Linked DNA regions of Homo sapiens: region 1 is linked to region 2. Evidence: promoter capture Hi-C in human tissues and cell types (Jung and others, 2019). All regions are on one chromosome and are shown on one strand. The core of a region is centred on a gene start or on the middle of the fragment in contact, and the rest is flanking DNA. Distances in the headings are between cores, read along the strand shown. Region 1 holds the start of MTF2 (metal response element binding transcription factor 2). Region 2 holds the start of GLMN (glomulin, FKBP associated protein).

What was found. The method cuts DNA at HindIII sites, captures the fragments that hold promoters and counts their contacts. A contact is called where the count stands out against the background at its distance.
Region 1: the fragment with the promoter of MTF2 here is called in contact with the fragment with the promoter of GLMN in region 2 in 1 of the 25 tissues and cell types used here (adrenal gland).

The regions. Positions count from the first base shown.
Region 1 is chr1:93,077,131-93,080,736 of GRCh38, forward strand. MTF2 (metal response element binding transcription factor 2) reads left to right here and starts at 2,153. Exons shown (of 15, transcript NM_007358.4): 1 at 2,153-2,401. The coding sequence starts at 2,397. RefSeq lists enhancers at 1,716-1,965, 1,902-2,196. The HindIII fragment of the contact is 11,533 bases long and covers 1-3,606 here.
Region 2 is chr1:92,297,547-92,301,180 of GRCh38, forward strand. It overlaps GLMN (glomulin, FKBP associated protein), which reads right to left and starts at 1,441. Exons shown (of 19, transcript NM_053274.3): 1 at 1,379-1,441; 2 at 415-483. The coding sequence starts at 453. It overlaps RPAP2 (RNA polymerase II associated protein 2), which reads left to right and starts at 1,513. Exons shown (of 13, transcript NM_024813.3): 1 at 1,513-1,600; 2 at 2,648-2,693. The coding sequence starts at 1,528. RefSeq lists enhancers at 539-1,435, 1,007-1,476, 1,697-1,926 and a silencer at 938-1,275. The HindIII fragment of the contact is 5,439 bases long and covers 1-2,814 here.

The DNA.
Region 1 (3,606 bases), core at 903-3,402, 780 kb after region 2:
GTGGCTCAAGTAAGCCTACCACCTCAGCCTCCTGAATAGCTGGGACTACAGGCAGGGGCCCAGCTAATTTTTAAATTTTTTGTAGAGACAGGGTCTCACTATGTGGCTCAGACTGCATACTGGTCTGGAACTCCCCAGCTCAAGTGATCCTTCTACCTTGGCCTTTCAAAGTACTGGGATTACAGGAGTGAGTTGCTGGTGGCTGGCTGACAGGTATTCTTTATACTTGACTGTGACTCCCTGAGTGTCCTTAAATCTCTGAACACTTGGTTTGCTTACACCTTTGTACTCACACGTTTGCACAGAAAAATAACACTTTTTTTTGATAGAGGCATAATTTACTTCTCTAATGTATAAGGGATTAGAATACTTTTGTGTAGCCAAAGAGCCTAAATTATTAGAGTTTCTGAGGTGGAAATGAATGCGTCTGAAGTATTGAATCACTGAAGATTTTGAAGTTGAGGCTTGGTGACCACTTTACAGAAATGTTGAGGAAAACTTAGACCAAACGTTCTCCAAAACAGATGTTCTCTGATTAGGCTTAGCTGCACAGCAAATATATCTGTTTGTGCAATATCTTTATTAATTTTTGTACTGCATCTACTTTTTAATATTTTATTTATTTATTTACCTTAATGCCACGTTCCTGAATGGGAATGCATCTACTTTTTTTTTTTTTTTTTTGAGATGGAGTTTTTGCTCTTGTTGCCTAGGCTGGAGTGCAATGGCACGATCTTGGCTCACCACAACCTCTGCCTCCTGGGTTCAAGCGATTCTCCTGTCTCAGCCTCCCGAGTAGCTGGGATTACAGGCATGTGCCACCACACCTGGCTAATTTTTGTATTTTTAGTAGAGACGGGGTTTCTCCAAGTTGATCAGGTTGGTCTCGAATTCCCGACCTCAGGTGATCTGCCTGTCTCGGCCTCCCAAAGTGCTGGAATTACAGGTGTGAGCCACCGCGCCCGGCTGCATCTGCTTTTTTTAAGTCAAAATTTTCCTCAGCCAACGTATGAAGGTCACTTAAGACGAATTTATGAGAGACGATGATGAGAATTGAAATAAAGTGAAACCTGAAAGGTAGTAGGTAAGTAGATACAGTGAGGGTACAGTAAGAAGACAGACTTAAAAGATTAGGACTATTATTCAGGAGAAGCAGAGGAGTGGAAGGGTATGACCACAATATTTAAAGTATTGAATGGTATTGGATAAAACGAATATGCTTATTTGCCAAATTCTGAGATCACAGGCTGAGGGAACCCCTTTTGAAGTATGAGCCAAATGAGCTTAGACCACAAAAGGTACTTTTTCAGAGACAGAAAAAATATGGTGTTCACTATCCCTGTGGCATAATATGGGACAAAAATATAAAATGGCTTTAAAAATATTTTGACGAAATTATAAATAAAGATTCCACACGTGGCTACTAAGAGGAGCTGGGTTGTATCTAGGTGTAAGTTAAAGAGACAAGCATACAATCTCACAGCTTGTCAGTTGGGACCCCTGTAGGCAGCAGAATCTGGGCAGGCTAAGGGTCTGCACTAATAAACAATTCTGTTTTCTTAAACCATTTTGCAGGGGACTATTCTCAGATTTCATTACAACTAGGAAGGACTGCAAAGCGGGTAAACAGAAAACAACCTTTCATCGTTAGGAAAAAAATCGTCTGAAAGTCTTTCATAAAAGCAGCTCCTGATAAGGAGTTTGGGACTGGACAGTGAATCGCTGAATAAAATTTAATCTCGACATCCTGGGTCTTCTCCCCTCTGAAGGAAATTCTAACAGCAGGCCTTAGGATGAAAGTAGAGGAAACGTGCTTCAGTTAAGGTTTTCTCCAGGGAAAAGAAATCGGCCCAGCAAGATGCACAGAGCACCGTTACGACCACGCACACCGAAGGTCGCACACGACCCTTTTCCTGTATAACAGTGCCAGCCTGCCGACGATCAGGAGCGCAGCTTTCACTATTGTGTTAGCCCCGGCGGCGGAAGGACTGAGCCTCACTGCAACGTTAAAGAGTCCTTCTTTGTTCAGCCCCAGTCGGGGACGCAGGGCGCGGTGTTCCTCCGCGCTCGCCGCGCAGTCCCTGCCCCCCCGCGGCTTTGGAGAGCTGCCATTCGGCACCGGAGTCGCTCCGCGCTCCCAGAATGCACCGGCAGTCCGCGGGAAACCAAAATGGCGAGGGGCTGTATTGAAGTGGGCTGTGTTTGAGGCCGGTGTAAGAACGCTCATTCTACCCCCAACCCTTGTCTCCAAGGACCTCGGTTTGTGCGTGCATATGTGCCGGGTACCCGGTGGGGCGGGTGCCCAGTAAGTGCTCGGACTCGCAGGGGAAGCGCCCACGGGGACGGATTGGTTGTTTTTTCCTGTATGAAGCGGTTGGCACCACTGAAGTGACCGAATGAGGTGAGAGACCTTGGCCTGGGAACCGACTCTTCCGGAGGAGATGGGGGTTGGGGGAAGGAGGAAGAAAGGAAGCAAGTATAAAAGGGAAAGATGGAGGACCAAGGTGGGGGTGGGGGCTCCTGTATGTGGGTGCCTTTGCATTTATGTGTATATTGAAAAGAATGGATGAAGAGGAGTAGTCAGTTGAGTGTTGGGAGAAAATAGGGACTAAAGGAGCGAGGAGGTCGTTGGGGGAGTCTGTTGGAGGAACAAGATGAAACGTTGAGACGGGGAAGCTGTGTTTGGAGGGCAGGAAGGAACCTGGGGGCGGGAGACGGTTGGAGGGGCAGGATGAACCTGGTGACGAGGGGGTGGGGAGCCGAGAGGAGGAGCCGTTGGGAAATGGGGGCTGAGGGAAATGTGGGGAGCAGAGTGGAGGGCTGCCTGGGACCTTAGCAGTGCGCAAAGGGAAGTAGCAGCTTGGAATCGGAGGGTGGAATTGTATGGAATTGGAGTAAAGGGGGTCGAGTGTAAGTGCTGGTAAGGATAAGGGGAACACACTGAAGTGGAGGTTGGAAGCACAACCTGAAAGCTTAAAGGGAAGCGGTGGGAGGGAAAGTGAGATGGGGGAAAGCTAGGTAGCTTATATTTGGAGCTCACCAAAAATATGAGGCTTTTCTTGTGTTTAATTAAACCTAACTCATATAATCTACGTCTAGGATGTAGATTTGTATTGTATTCATTTTTACAACTGAGGTAATTACGGCTCAAGGAATTTTAACCAATTTGCCAAGATTTCTTAACATATTTCGGTAGTGCCAGAACTCTAACTCTGTGTTTTACAATCTGGTGTCCTTGGTTGCTAGAATTTTTCTTTGGAAGCAATTAGAGGGAACAGATGGATTTATCGGGGTAATCTGACTAACAGCAAGGGTTTGTGAACAATGGGAAAAGGCTTATGGAATGTTACTCTATTCTTTAAAACATTTAACTTTGGTTAAAGATAGAAACCATGTAACACTAACTTAAATGTGAAAACCTAGCTAGGCCTGTGTGTAATACATAGGAAGGCACCATGTGAGGTCAGTACAGAGCTAGAAATATGTAAATAGTACCTGATTTAATTTGACTTCAGAACCTCCGGTAGTAATAGTAGTTACTTTCTCCTTCAGATGGATTCCATGTGACCCTCCTGTATACCTAGCCTACAAGCTGGTTTCAATTTC
Region 2 (3,634 bases), core at 191-2,690:
AACCCAAAAAACAAACAAAAAAAAGTATATGCAAATAAAAATTAAATACAATAACTTCTTGATTTATCTATGAAAAAAGGAAATCTGTTTAAATTCTAGATAAATGTAACGTAAATAACACACGTATCAAAATTAGGATTACCCTAATAAATACTTTAATAAGTGACCTTGAAATCTACTGTACCAGTGAAATCTATGAAAAGGATCAGGATTAAAATGTAAAAGGTTATTTAGATAAGTATGTCACCTGGAGAAATAATCCAATCTGCCTCCCCCACTCATGCTCTTTACAGGTCAAAAAAAGCAAGGATTAAAGAAGATAAACAATTTGAGTGACCACAAATATAATTAAAAACAATCTGTGCCCTTCCCATATTTTGAAAGGTATTTAATTTTACAAAAATTAATACTTACACATCTCTTTATTATAGACTGAAGTTCCTCTACAGCCATTCTTATTTCTCCTAGTTTCGATGCTAAAATCTACAAATACAAAACACACTGTTAACTATCCGTGATATTACACTTAAGTATTCAAAAGTTATGTTTCAGTGTGATAAATTATTAGTAAATACAATAAAGAAAATGGAAAGTTTTTGTTGTTGTGTTTTTTGGTCCAATAGCATGCTAGGAGAAAATGTAAAGTTTTAAAGTTGAAATGTTATTACTGAATCTTAGTATGTTTGCCTAAGAAAATAAAGTGTTTTTTTAGAAGCCCTTATTGCATGTTTTAAGTTTTCTAGGAGCATAGTTTTGAAAGCTACTTTGAAGGAAAAAAAAACAAAAAAAACCTCTCGAGCACTCCCAAGAGGCGAGGCATATACGAACTAAAGGGCTTTTAAAAAGCAAAGCACTTCTTTTCTGAAAAAAAATTTCCAAAAGGTGGACCTGAAATCAAAATTCTAATCATCAGGGGATTTTTCATTTTTAATGTCTCACCTCACAAAAATTGGGGTGCAACACAAGCTTATCTATAGGGGGTGAAGATTCAGATGCCCTCCATTCCATTTCTCTCTAGGAGTTGCAGTCCCCAAAGTGATCAATCCAGCTAGTGAAATCACTGTATCACACGGAGACAAGACAACGGCGGCCTTCAGGAGGAGACCATCGCTTCTCCTGGCGGCAAGGCTCGGCCCCAAGCCCTCAGTAGGGGCGCGAGTCAGCCCGGTCCTCAGGGCAGCGCGCTGGAAGGCGAGTGAACACCCCAGCGCGCGTGCGGGCTGCATCAGAGGAAGCCATGTCTTCCGATTCCTGCTCGCCTAGGTGGGCAGGCTCCACCACCTCGCGTGGCCTAGTCGGCCCGCAGCACCAAGTCCGCCGCGGCTCACGGCCAACCGCGAGCCCTGGCCACCCTGAACCTCTCCACAACTCCACTTACCGGCCAGAACCCTCGCCTCTCCCAGCCGCCGCCACCTCCTCCGGCGTCTTAGCCCGCTCTTCTGGCCCCGCCCCGCGCTACGCGTAGGGAGGCGGGGCCTCGGGGCGAGACGCCGGAGCGTGTCCCCGTCCGGCAGACTACTCTCCCCCATGGCGGACTTCGCTGGGCCGTCTTCTGCCGGCCGCAAGGCCGGGGCTCCCCGCTGCTCTCGAAAAGCCGCAGGTAGGAGCAAGGATCTCTTCCCACTTTTGGACCCTGAAAGCTGGGCCCCGATCTCGAGTTATAGACCGCAGCGCGCGGGCGCTCCTGAAAGGCTGCTTCAGGGGAGGGGTTCTCCCAGGTAGAGTAGGCCGAAAGCTTCCCACCGCCGTCCGCACCTCCTGGGAAAGATTTCCTGGCCGCCCCTCACCCCTTTACGCCAGTGTTCCAAGATTTCCCTCACGCGGACTGTGGCCCCAGCCTCTGAGACAAAGGACAGTGGAGGCCCCGGGAACCCAGGCCTGGGGTCCCCGGGTTTCGGGGCAAGTGACTAGGGCAGCGTTGGCAGCTGGCCTTGAACCTAGGACCGGTCCTCCTTTCCAGATTGCTTGGGTGCCCAGTTCTTTAAGGTGCCGGACTCCCCTCTTCCCCCAGAGAGGACGTTTGGCAGACGGAGAGAGGTTTCCCCTAAAAGTACCCAGATCTCAGATTTTCAGGAGTGGTTAATTAAGCAACTATGATACAGAAGAAAATTCAATCCCCAAAGAGATACATTTTAACCAAGAAAAATTAGACAGTAATCAATTTGCAAAAACAAATTGCTCTCCCTTCCTATTTCATTTTGATTTACACACGATTGGACATAAAATATGTGGAAAAGAAGAAAAGGTGGTCTACAGTTTGTTATTTGTGTAGGAATCTATCTTGTACCTAATGTGTTTGTGTAGACCTGACCTACTGCCACCATGTGTAGCTTAACTGCGGGGATGCATTTTGAGAAATAAGTTGTTAGTCGATTTCATCCTTGTGTGACCATCATCGAGTGCACTTACACAAACCTAGATGGTACAGCCTACTTACACACTAGGCTATATGGTACAGCCTATTGCTCCCAGGCTACAAACCTGCACAGCATGTTACTGTACTAAGTACTGTAGGCAACTGTATATCTAAACATAGAAAAGGTACAGTAAAAATACAGTATTTTAATCTTATGAGACCGCTGTCTGTATGCTGTCCGTCGTTTACGGAAATGTCATTATGTAGCACATGACTGTATTTTTATTGTAGGTACTAAACAGACAAGTACTTTGAAACAAGAAGATGCTTCTAAAAGGTATGACAGCTACATGGACAACTACATTGGCATATCTACTTATCTTGTATTACTTGTACCAATTTTAAAACAATAATGGTTACCTTTTTTTTTTTAGAGAAAATTATCATGAGAGGGAAGGGAAAGATCTGGGAAGGCCTATAAATTCTCACATAGACTGTTACATTCCTCTACTCCAGGCTTTAAGAAAACCAAACTAAGCACTCAGACTGCTAGTGAAGGAATGAGTGTCTGTAGAAGGTGTTTGTTTTTCACCGCTTCAGGTACACTCTCCTTTTATTGCTTTATATGCCAGAGACTCACTCTCCAAGTTTCGCTGTCACTCCAAGAAACCTTTTCTGTTCTTTGTTACATCAAGTCCAGATTTTCATTAAAAAGCTGTCTTGTACTAGTTCTGGTTCTAAAAAGGCAAGATATTACCACATATCACACAGAGTTTCTAGAAGAGGAGTAGAATGTGAAGGGGATTAAAAGCATATGTAGCTATGATTTTTATTTTGTGAAGACTCACTAATCTTATATTGGCTTTGGTCTTAATTTACTCATTCTTTCAAAAATTATTTATTGAGTATAAGATATGTCGGACCTGTGTTAGGCTCTGAAGATATGGTGAACAGAATAGACACAGTTCTTGCCTAGTGGAACAGAGGAATAAATAATAATAAATTAATTAGTTAATTAACATAAACAAATACATAATTACAAATTGTGATAAGCACTATGAAGGAAAAGACTGTGATGTTACGAGAAGGAATAACGAAGTCTAATTTAGTTGGAGGTGGGTGGCAGGGAGGTTGGCTGTGAGTTTTCAGCGAAAGCCTTATGCTGAGACCTGCGTGCTAAGTAGACATTAACCATACAAAGAGTATATAAAGACTTATGTATGTGCAGTGCAAAAAGTAGCTTGTTTCCTTTTTGAAAAGTATTGGATCAAAAGTAAC